Linked DNA regions of Homo sapiens: all the other regions are linked to region 3. The links are contacts of gene promoters, found by promoter capture Hi-C in blood cells and fetal thymus (Javierre and others, 2016). All regions are on one chromosome and are shown on one strand. The core of a region is centred on a gene start or on the middle of the fragment in contact, and the rest is flanking DNA. Distances in the headings are between cores, read along the strand shown.

Evidence for each region. The method cuts DNA at HindIII sites, captures the fragments that hold promoters and counts their contacts. A CHiCAGO score of 5 or more calls a contact.
Region 1: a contact is called between a fragment that was not itself captured here and the fragment with the promoter of REP15 in region 3, in 1 of 17 cell types (endothelial precursors). The highest score is 5.8, in endothelial precursors.
Region 2: a fragment that was not itself captured here is called in contact with the fragment with the promoter of REP15 in region 3 in 1 of 17 cell types (endothelial precursors); the score reaches 5.8 in endothelial precursors.

Annotation. Positions count from the first base shown.
Region 1 is chr12:27,396,952-27,400,867 of GRCh38, reverse strand. BMAL2 (basic helix-loop-helix ARNT like 2) reads right to left here. Exons shown (of 17, transcript NM_020183.6): 10 at 94-334. All of the region lies in intron 1 of BMAL2-AS1 (BMAL2 antisense RNA 1), which reads left to right. Among named protein-coding and RNA genes, the nearest start is that of BMAL2-AS1, 48 kb to the left of the region's middle. The HindIII fragment of the contact is 2,210 bases long and covers 951-3,160 here.
Region 2 is chr12:27,378,158-27,382,343 of GRCh38, reverse strand. It overlaps BMAL2 (basic helix-loop-helix ARNT like 2), which reads right to left. Exons shown (of 17, transcript NM_020183.6): 5 at 1,940-2,097. Among named protein-coding and RNA genes, the nearest start is that of BMAL2, 47 kb to the right of the region's middle. The HindIII fragment of the contact is 1,485 bases long and covers 1,738-3,222 here.
Region 3 is chr12:27,695,054-27,698,985 of GRCh38, reverse strand. REP15 (RAB15 effector protein) reads right to left here and starts at 2,539. Exons shown (of 1, transcript NM_001029874.3): 1 at 1,390-2,539. The coding sequence starts at 2,423. The coding sequence ends at 1,713. PPFIBP1 (PPFIB scaffold protein 1) reads right to left here. Exons shown (of 30, transcript NM_003622.4): 30 at 3,422-3,932. All of the region lies in intron 3 of MRPS35-DT (MRPS35 divergent transcript), which reads left to right. The HindIII fragment of the contact is 1,154 bases long and covers 2,111-3,264 here.

The sequences.
Region 1 (3,916 bases), core at 806-3,305, 300 kb after region 3:
GAAAAAGAAAAACTAGCAGTGCTACTAAGACACGCCTTTAATAGCTTCAAATATCCCATTGAATTCTAATCATTATAACATGTAAATGTTTACCTTTGATCTACATAGACAAATTTTCCATTCACTGCAAACCGGGTTATAAATTCAGTTGGTTTCACATTAATCTCTCCACTGTTCTGTGGAACAATATATGGCTGTAATCTTCCAATGGCCACAAGGCAGGTAAAATTACTGTTGTCTTTCTTACTGTTCCTTTCTTCTTCCATTCCAACAATATTTGGAGGCCAGCTTCTCAAGTAACCAGTGCAATGGATAGTATAGAATTTTCTGTGCTCTAATTCAAAGATTTTTAAAAAGGACATTTGGATCATTATAAATAAGTCATTAAATTTCTTATATTGACATCTATAATAGTTATAATTGTGCTATAAAATGCTCTTTAAATATGCTAAAATATGAAAGGGGAATGGTATTCCATTGAAAAGATATCACCAATTTTGTTTATTTCATGACTTTATTATTAATAGATTATTTTTCTCAGGAACTAAATTGTATGTACTACATGAAAAAACGAACAGGTTGCTCTATTTTAGGATTAACTAGGTCTATGACTTAACATATTTCCAAGTCAATTTTTAAAATTATAGTAATTTACATCTATTAGAAAAAATTAATCCTCATGCCCCCTTGCAATATTGTTTTCACCTTATTAAGTTTTTTGGTATATCGTAACTTATATTCAAAACTTTAAAAAGACATTTAAATAATTATGCATACATTCTTAAATTTCTTATGTTAGTGCTTATAATGGTTAACAGATACATAAGGTTATAATAGATTATAGAAACATTTTAAAGAACACTTGGAGAAATTTATAGTGAAAAGTACAAAAATAAAATAAATTTCACTTTTTAGGAAAATCCCAAGCAATTAACTCATAGGAAGAAGCTTGTCAAGCATGTCCACCAAAATAATAAAAAATTGGAAATAATCTATATCCTCAAATATCATGCTTAAGCAAAAAATAAATCCAATACGGGCATAAACAATGAGTAGGCTACAGATTATGGCATGCCACAAAAGTGATTTAAAGGTTAAAAAGTAGGGGGAAAGCCTGATAAAAATTATTTGAAACAGCTGTTTTTATGATAAGATTTAGAAAAGATTAGAACAATCATTGTTTCAAATTGGCACTATTTGGTAAAAGTTCCATTACAATAAATCCTTTAAATTTTTGTTTAAATAGAACATGATATGAACTGTCATATAAGATAGTAGTTAACAATAATAGCAAAGATTTAGAGAATACTTTATGTGTCACAGTCTGTTTAAAGTGCTTTAAACGTATAACTCATTTAATCTTAACAGCTCTATGGGATGTTCTAGTATCTCCATTGTCCTAGGAAACTGAGTTAATGGCAAGGTCACACCAGGTACAGGATGGAGCTGGGGTTAAAACTCAGGCTGGCTCCAGAGCCCACTTTCTAAATCACTAATGCCACACCATTTGCTGATAGTGAGTGCTCTGTCACCAAAGATGTTCAAATAGGAGTTGCCTGGGTGACAGAAGGGGAGGGGCACAAAGGTGTTCCAGCCAGAGGGAATGACCAGTGAGAACTGAGAGAGAGCGGTCAGATGCGGCTGAAGCATATGCTGCAGTGGGAAAGGCTGGAAAATAAAGCAGGGAACAGAGGGCAGGTTGTAAGCCATGCATAAAACCTTGTATCCAACATTTCACAAACACCACTCCCTTCCCAGGCCACAGATGCCCTAAATTACAAAACTCCTTACCTCTTCCAACCCAAACCCAGTCTTTATCACTTATTCCCTACCCTGTTTACTGGTGCCACGATCAACCCAGGCAGTTCAAAGAGAAATCTGGGGGTCATCCTAGGCTCTACCTCCCCCTAACAACCCAGATGCCTCAAAGGAATTAAAATTGAGTAAGTACGAATAAAAGTTTTCATTTAACAAAGCTAGATGGCAGTTAAAAATAAAAGGGCTTATACATCAGGTTCAGCATTTTTGCAAACTTATGAATGATACTGACTAAAAATATTCCACTCTACTGAAAATATAGACTTAAGAAAGTCTGTATTTTTAATTTATATATGTAATCTCATCACATAGAACCTAGCCTGTTGCATTTACTTCTCTCTTACAACAGGTTACTATCTATATTTCCAAATCGAACTGTCCCTCACTTCTCACTGTGAACATTTATTCAGTTGGCAAATTTCTAGCTGGGATTGTGTAATTCTATCAACTGCAATTCATTTGATCAGCTATCTAAGTTTTTTTTTTAAAAATCCCATTTAATCCATTTCCTATTTAGAAAAGAAAAAAATACAGCTCGCTACCAGTGCAGTATTCTCAGGGCAAATGGGAAGTGGGTTAAAAATTCTTATCTCAATAATTCTTTAGCTTTTTATCTAAATATTGGAGTCATGAGGACTGATCCTTGCCAAACTATTTACTTACATCGGCTCCACAGGCTAGATTCAAGTGTCATCTACTCCATGAGTTCCCAAATGTGTGTGGGGGTGAGGAGAGGGAGAAAAAGCCTGTATTACCCTAAACACTGCCTTAATTTACAGGACATCCTTTCAAAATCCTTTATGAAATTTTTCCTCAACATGTTGCAGGCTAGGTCTCTCAACTTGGTGTCTTGCTGTCTTCACTTGAAATCTTGAGGAAGCAGATCCAAAACAAGGATTCAAATATAAGAAGTTTATTTGAGGGGTGGTCCCAGGAAACACTGGCAGGGAACTGGGAAATGAGACACGGAAGAGAAGGAAGCTAATAAAGTACCTGAAACCTGCAAGTTCCTGGAGCCACAGGCAGAACTGGCTCCAGAGACCAGAGGAGATCAGGCGGAGAGTCCCGGCTTTGGACACTGGAGGCCAGTGGCATGCCCTGTCCGCAGTAGTGGGTGCTGGGGGGATATGCCATGGGGCACTGACAGATAGCATCTGCCACACATGCACAAGAAACAAGTGGATTCTGGGTGTACTGTTGCACTTCTTCCTCATGCACAATTATCTTATGAAGATAAATTTAAGAAACACTTAAGACATTTGGTAGCAGTCACCCATCCTTCATCAGCCTGCGATTTCACAACTTCAGATACCTGAGTAATTGTCTCTCTACCTTAGAAGCTTTTTCAAAGTCTGAATCCGTGACCCATGAAGGTTTGATTCAGGATATAAATAATTTTTTAAAATGTCAATGTTATTTTTAAAAAATCTTTTATTATGTAAAATCTCAAACATAATGCAAAATCAGAAATAAACTTGGGTAACTCATCTTGAGAAATCCTGAGAAATGGCCTTTCCATAAATCTTAAATTCAACTTCCAATTAAAATAAAAAGGGCTGCTCTCTAGTCTTCCTCTAAGTTTAAATGTAACTGACATGTCATGGTAAAAGGGAAGAAAAACACCTTTACTAACCACAGGCTTTCATCATTAATAATGAGCAGTCTAAAACACAGTGAATTGGCTGGGCGTGGTGGCTCACGCCTATAATCCCAGCACTTTGGGAGGCCAAGGTTGGCGGATCACAAGGTCAGGAGATCAAGACCATCCTGGCTAAAATGGTGAAACCCCATCTCTACTAAAAATACAAAAAATTAGCCAGGTTTGGTGGCATGTGCCTGTAGTCCCAGTTACTTGGGAGGCTGAAGCAGGAGAACGGCTTGAACCCAGGAGGCAGAGGTTGCAGTGAGCCGAGATCATGCCACTGCACTCCAGCCTGGACCACAGAGCAAGACTCCATCTCAATAAATAAATAAACAAACAAACAAACAAACAAACAAACAAAACCACAGTGAATTCCACTGGTTAATTACTATTTGAAAGAGTAATTTCAAAACGACCATATGAAAAATGTAATTTCACTTGACAGACACTCTCCCT
Region 2 (4,186 bases), core at 1,231-3,730, 320 kb after region 3:
GCACAGAACAGGAATGCGGTTGATGCTCAGATCATGTTTTGTTGAACTAGTCGACTGATTCATGGCTTTTCCCTTAGGTCTTCCTCCCTTAGGACACTGCTAATGTGAAAATACTCAGCTAATTTCAGGGTTGCAATCAAATGACCTCAGTTGAGCCTGTAAATTTTCATTGCTGAAGGATTTAAGGAAAATATTGCAAGCCTCAGCTGTGGGTAAAAGAGAAGCTTATTTCACAACAGACTGTTATGAAAATAAGATCTCCCATCATGCTCCCAACAGGAAGCACCAGGAGTCTAGGTGAGTGCTGCTCTCCTCTTAGCCACCTTAACTTGACTTGACCATACCTTGCATGGTGCCCAGATAATTTCCATTACCCTGAAATATATTTTCCTTTTCCTGGCAGTGTTTGAGATCTAAACTAAGACCCTTGGTCATCCTTTGCTCACTCCCTTTTTATGATTTTTGAGCCAAATTTCACTATAATCTTCTAGATCTTTACAAATCTGAACTTGCAGAGTCTCCTCTGGAGTCTTCAGCTTGCTGCTTGGCCAGGTCTTATCTTTTCAGTGCAAATTTACATCATCGGCATTGGTAAATCGAAAACTCTATTCCACTTCACCCAAGTTGGACTGGGGCTATTCCCAAAACAGGGGTGATTTCTACCGCACATGTTGACATGGTTTGGCTCTGTGTCCCCGCCCAAATCTCATGTCGAATAATAATCCCCAGTGCTGGAGGTGGGGCCTGGTGGGAGGTGACTGGATCATGCTTGTGGATTTTCCCCTTGATACTGTGTCACAATAGTGAGTTCTCATGAGATCTGGTTGTTGAAAGTGTGTGGCACCTCCCCTACCCTCTCTTGGTCCTGCTCCTGCCATGTAAGATGCCGGCTCCCACTTTGCCTTCTGCCATGAGTGAAAGCTCCCTGAGGCCTCCCCAGAAGCAGAAGCCACCATGCTTCCTGCACAGCCTGTGGAACCGGGAGCCAATTAAACTTCTTTTCATTATAAATTACCCAGTCTCAGGTATTCCTTCATAGCAATGCAAGAATGGACTAATACACAGGTACACATATACATTTATTACACTTTGATTTAAAATTCAAGCTCAAGTTGGGGAATTGCTAAAGCCAGAAATGATCACCCACACACCAAGAGGCAGTGGCAAGGACCTCCTTCCCCCAGTGTCTCACATATTTGAGGATACTCTGAATGGCAACATGTGATGCATTATAAGGTACTACTCGTAAATCTGAATGAAGCTTTAAGAGAAACTGCAGAGTTTAAGGAAGTTTTCTTTTTGAAGGATAGAAATCTCTCAATAACTTAATAATTAATACTATACTTCAGAACTTTTTTTTTTTTCTGAGACAGGCTGTCACCCAGGCTGGAGTGCAGTGGCATGATTACTGCTCACTGCAACCTCCACCTCCCAGGCTCAAGCGATCCTCCCACCTCAGCCTCCCAGGTAGCTGGGACTACAAGCACGCAAGACCACACTTGGCTAATTTTTGCATTTTTTTGCCCAGGCTTGTTTCGAAATCTGGACTCAAGCCATCCGCCCACCTCAGCCTCCCAAAGTACGGGGATTACAAGCATGAGCCACCACGCCCAGCTCAACTTCAGAACTTCTAAAGAATTGAGAGGTATGAAAGGCAGGTGATATTCTCTTCATAATATATGTGAAGAAGAAATGTAAATACCTTTCAAGGTTGTATAGTGAGCTTGAGAAAAAGCTTTTATCAGAACCAAGTTTTCTGACATCCAATTCAGTATTCTCTCCACATACAGACTATAGACAAATGCCAGTGAATACCTCTAAAGCTGAAAGACACATCTGGATAGAACCTCAACAGCTGACAGCAAAGCGAACCAATCAGAGACCTCAGTGACAGAGCAGATTTCACTTATCGAAGTGTGGAAGCCATCGTCAAACTCACCTTTTAAAGATCTCAAGTGTTGAACAGCCATTCTTAAAACTGTAAGTTTGTCCAGTTTACGCGCCATGGGGTTGCACTGAGGGATCATTGCAGACAGTTCTTCAATCAGGTTATTCATTTTATCTCTCCTCCGCTTTTCAGTTTGGCTATGAGCTTCTCTAAGAGGGAAAAGGAACTTCCTTTATATTTAACATTCAGCAGACCCCCAGTCACCCCCGTGTTGCTCACTGGAGCAGATGCTGAGCCCAGCAGGCACACACTGTTCTTCCTCCCCACTTGGGCCCTGCAGTTGTCAGTGAGGGAAGAGGAAAGCGCTGCTGAGACCAGGAACAGCATTCATAAAACTCGCTGCCCTTGGTCAGTCCCTCCCTACCTCATTTTCTGAAATATTTAAAAACAAAGACATCTGTCTGAGAGCCCAGGTGGTTTTTCCACCTGTTTCCAATATTAGAGAAGAGATGGGTGCCCTTCTGTTCAAAGCTAACTATTCTCTGGTATTTGCATAAATAGTTGTCAGCATCTTAACCTCATTATTTTTATAGCTCCTTATCATGGGTCTATAAATGTGCTCAAGTATCTTCCCCCTGAAAAAAAAAACCCTTTCACTAATTCTAGTTGTTTTTTGTTCTTGCTACCGTCTTCCCCCCTCAGCAAACTCCCTGAAAGAGTGCAATTTCCACTCAATCTTTCATTTCCCAGGCATCTGTCCATCTGTAACATTAACCTTCCACAACCCCTGCCCCACTAAAACTGTCCCAGCGAAGATCCTCCTTCTCTCTTGCGATCTCTTGCTGATCCCTGCCTTGAATCTGACACTGCTGACACTTCTCATTCTCCCCTGGTCTCCACAGCCTCTCTGCCTCCTGGTCCTCCTCCACTCTCCCTGCTCGGTTCAGTCCCCTCGTCTCCTCACCCAGCTCTTACTTGATCCTTAAATACTGGTGTGCACTAAGATTCCCTGCTTAGCACCGCTCTCTCCTCACTCTTTATTCACCCTGAGATCTCATTCCCTCACAAGGCTTTACAGCTACTCATAAGCTATTTGTTATTATAACCCTATCTCATTCATACTTCACTCAGTTCCTGACCTTTGGAACTAGAATTATAAACCTAAATGATTCTCAAGAAATCTAAAATTCAAGAAACCCCAAACTGCATGCATTCTCTGCGATGTACCCCCATTTTCAATTCTTCCTGTACTACTCCTGATTTATAGGGTTTATCTTCCTTCTATAGGGTTTATCTTGGTAGGTAACACAACTAGACTCAATCTAGACTAAGCTTGTCCAAACTGTGCTCCAGGATGGCTTTGAATGCAGCCCAACACAAATTCATAAACTTTCCAAAAACATTATGAGATTTTTTTTTTTTAGCTCACTAGCTATCATTAGTGTTAGTGTATTTTATGTGTGGCCCAAGACAATTTTTCTTCTTCCAACGTGACCCAGGGAAACCAAACGATTGGATACCCCTGGTTTAGACCCTTCCTCTTCACCCTAAAAAGCCAAAGAATCACAAACTCCTGTCAATTCTAGATCTTAAAATATTTCTTAAATATGTCTTCTCTTCCTCTCCATCCCCTCTGTCATCATCTTAATTTAGGCTCATTGCATTACCCCAAAACCTTTTAAACTGCTGTTCCTTCCTCTCCTAGTCTATTCTATGACTTCCAAAATTATGTAGTAAAACAAATCCAGTCACCTAATCCCCTTGCATAAAACTATTCACTGCATTTCCACTGCCCAAGAGGACTAGCCAGATTCCCTAATTATAGGCCAGGGTTCTCCCTGATCTGCCTCATGTCTTCATCTCCAGTTTCTCTCTTCAAGACTTTCCCCGACAGCTCCAAATGTTCCACAGCAGCAACGCCTGAAGACTTGCTCATCCTCACACATGCCATACCGTCTCACATCTCCTCCATGCCTTGCTCTTTACCAGGCTTACAAAGTCCTTTCTGACTATACTGTTGGAGAAATCCTATTCTTTCTTCAAAATCCAACTCAGTTATTCTTCTGGGAAGCTTTCTCTGACTACTACATGATTAATCACTGCTCTCTCTAAGCTACCTCAGTACCTTTCATACCACTACCCTTATTTCATCAAATCTAAGAGCCACCAATTGTAAGACGCACTATTATTTAAAGCATCACAAGAGAAAGAAATGCTGCCAATTGACAGGAAGATGCCACTGATGATAAGAAATTTCCACAGAAGATAAAACGTAGAGGAGAAAAGTGTATCTTAGAT
Region 3 (3,932 bases), core at 1,290-3,789:
GCCATAAGAAGACTGTCAGAAACAGAAACGATTTTAAGAGGTTGGATGCAGTTGAAAGGATTCAGCCCATGTTTCTAATGGCTGCGTATCAGTGAACAGGTGGTTCAACAACAGGAAAAGTAGCCACAGATTAAGGCCAGGAAATGGAGGAAAAATGAGCAACAGTAACCAGCTAGCATTTTTGCAGGTGAACACCTTTGTTGTCTCAGCAATTCCAGTAGTTTAAAATCAGAGAATTTTCTTTTTATGTATTTATTGAGATGGGGTCTTGCTCTGTTGCCTAGGCTGGAGGGCAGTGGCACGATCACGACTCACTGCAACCTTGACCTCCCGGACCCAAGCAGTCCCCCTACCTCAGCCTCCCAAGTAGCTGGGACTACAGGCACACATCACCATGACTTTTTGTATTTTTTGTAGAGATGGGGTTTCACCATGTTGTCCAGGCTGGTCTTGAATTCCTGGGCTCAAGCAATCCTCCTGCCTCAGACTCCCAAAGTGTTGGGATCACAGCTACTCTTCCTGGCCAAAGAATTTTCTTTTCTTCTTCTTTTTTTTTTAATTGATTTTTACTTAACCTAATTTATAGGCTTACAGGGAATTTTCTTTACACGACTGTAGAATATGGGCTTTGTAACTGGGCAGACTTTACTTTTTTGTTACAAGCCACTTAATAGATTTATGAGTTATCTAGCCTCTTTGATTTGGCAAATAGAAACCTCTTAGAGTCATGGAAGACACATGCAAATCACGCTAATATATGTAAAGCATCTGACTTGACTTACAAGTGCAATAAATAATGGTGATTCCTTTTTGTACTGTTATAATTCCACACTGGCTTTTAAGTAAAAATGGTTATTATATGTGAATACACCTTCCTTACTGCAAAGGCTAAACAAGTATTATTAAAAGGAATAGTTTTATAGGTCACTGTTTTTAAATCATAGGCAGAGCTAACACTAAAGTGAATCTCAAAGTAAATCCCATCAAAGTCCTCTCAGTGCAGAGACAGCAGCTAGGGAGAAGACAGAATAAGGTAAGTGTTAGAGGAAAAGAACGCTGTGAGTTTTGTGCAGGAGTCCTGAACCCAAACTATTTTTTTTTTTTTAAAGATGAGGATTCACTCTGTTGCCCAGGCTAGAGCACAGTGGTGCAATCACAGCTCACTGTAGCCTTAAACTCCTGGGCTCAAGCGATCCTCCCACCTCAGCCTACTGAGTAGCTGAGACCATAGGCATAAGCCACTGTGCCTGGCTTGAAACTGGCATTACAAATGTAATTAAACCTGCTCTGTAGCCTTACCCACTACTTTATCCTACCCATCTCCCACCAACAGATGCAAAAACACATTTTATACTTTTGAGTGCTAGACTTATTATTTCAAACAGACACTTTTTTTTTGCAAATCAAACTTTAAATGTGACTTTATTATCTCTCTTCCATTTTTATTATTGAATAAGTGAATGAAATATTAAACTAAATTATAACTTTTCCTGAACTGTTTTTAAATCATAGGCAGAGCCAGGGTTTTCTTTTTTTCTCTCTCTCTCTGTAATTGCGACATGAATGTACTTTGATCCCAGTAATCATTTTCAATCAATGGGAAAACAAATGAAAAAAAATCCCATGCTGGAATGATGCAAATAGGTGAGCTTGCTTATTAGAATCTTTTTTTCTTTTCCTCTTACAGGCCACTCACATAATACATATCCAAGTCAGAGAATGCTGATATAAACCTTGCCCACCTCTCTCAGCCCGTCTTTCTTACTCAGACAATTTCTGAGCAGCTCTTTGATGAACACACAATCTTCAGTTTCCAGGACAAACTGAGCCACAGCCTTCCCTCCTGGCAGATGGCTCCTCACCATCTGACTTTTGACACTGTCCAGGACAACTCCCCTGATGTCTTTAGGCTTTCCTGGCATACCAAAGATGATAAACAGACCCAGGCAATCCTCTCCTATTAAGTTACAGAATTCTTCCAGCTTATCAAATCTACTTTTCTTCCAGGAAGACTCCTCTACCCTTGATTCTGGATTGGAAAGGTCACAAGGCTTAGATTCCACAGGAGGAGGTGAAGACATCTGCAGAGTCTGTACTGCGAGCTGAAGCTTTATTTGCTTGTTGGATCCCCAAAAGGTCCAAATCCAGTCTGCACCAAACAGGAAGGCTTGGTGCTTGGTCATCTTGGTGGTGGTCAGCCACTCATCAACTCCCTTTTCTTGGCAGAAAGTGATGAAATGGATTAAGAAGATCTCATTCAGAGTATTTGCAGCTGGGCAGAGTTTACTTGGAGGATATTCAAATCCAAGGTACTCCTTCAGTTTCTGAGCTGCATGGACTATAGCTTCACTGACCACCTCACAGACGACGGGCACCTCTTTGCTGTCCTTCAGAGCCAACTGTTGCGATGCTTTCTGCCCCATTTTCTCTGCATCCAAATATCAAACATGTGAATCTGGTTCAGACGTACTTCTTTTTCAAAGTAAAAGTTCTGCAGGGAGGCCACATCTGTTAATGGTTCATGTTTTTCTAACTCTACAGCTTCCTCGGGTGTAGTTAAGCATATATACATACAGCTAAATAAACATGTTAGTTCTCTCTGTTTGTCAGTTGGGTGTGTTGTGTTCATACAGTTCCTGCTGGTTTATTAAGTTAAAGATACTAAATTTCACACAAAACATCTGTTCTATCTAGGTTATATTCACTCTACTTTTAATCTTTGGTAATCTCTTCCAACATGTTTCCTCTTTCCAAGTTTTAGTTGAAGTAAAAATAGCACGTTAGTTCTTTTTGTTTTTGTTTTTTGAGACAGGGTCTCACTCTGCTACCCAGGCTGGAGTGCAGTGGCGCAATCATGGCTCACTGCAGCTTCAACCTCCCTGGGCTCAGGTGATCTCACCTCAGCCTCTTGAGTAGCTGGGGCTACAAGTGTATACCACCACACCTGGCTAATTTTTGTGTATTTTTTGTAGAGGTGGGGTTTCACCATGTTGTCCTGGCTGGTCTCAATCTCCTAGGCTCAAGCAATCCTCCCGCCTCGGCCTCCCAAAGTGCTGGGATTATAGGCATGAGCCACTGCACCCAGCCCTATGTTAGTTTTTTAAATATCCATACACCTCTTTCTACAACTAACTTCTTCCAATCTCTAGGTGAGTCATTTCCATTTGCTTTTCCTATTTTCTTTTTTTGTTTGTTTTTGTTTCTTTTACCTTCTGCCATGATTCTTCATTCCCCAGCTCAGTTGCTTCTTTTCCTACAAAAGCTTCTCAAACAAAGGCCTCAAATTCCTATCTGTTGATACACATTATAAACTCCATTCGAACAAATTTATGGCAGTTTATAAAGAGATTGTGTTATTTTCTATGTCAGAAACAAAGCCTGTTACTATGAACAACGGAAAATGAAATAAGGGCAATAAAAATGAGGCAATTATCAATTGACTTTATTTCCTTTCATATGGTAACACCAGCAGTGTATGATATTTGTAAATAAAATACGTCATAAAAAAATTTAACCTTATTACCTATTATCAGTTAGGTTATACCATCCTGAATAAAAAATATTTGGGCCGGGCATGGTGGCTCACGCCTGTAATCCCAGCACTTTGGGAGACCGAGGGGGGCGATTCACGAGGTCAGGAGATTGAGACCTTCCTGGCTAACACGGTGAAACCCCGTCTCTACTAAAAATACAAAAACAAAATTAGCCAGGCGTGGTGGCAGGTACCTGTAGTCCCAGCTGCTTGGGAAGCTGAGGTGGGAGAATGGCGTGAACCCAGGAGGCGGAGCTTGCAGTGAGCTGAGATTGTGCCACTGCACTCCAGCCTGGGCAACAGAGCAAGACTCCGTCTCAAAAAAAAAAAAAATGGCGTCTGTAACAGTTTCCTGGTATTTTCAACCAGGTTCTAAGAACAAATTGATTTTTTGAAGTGG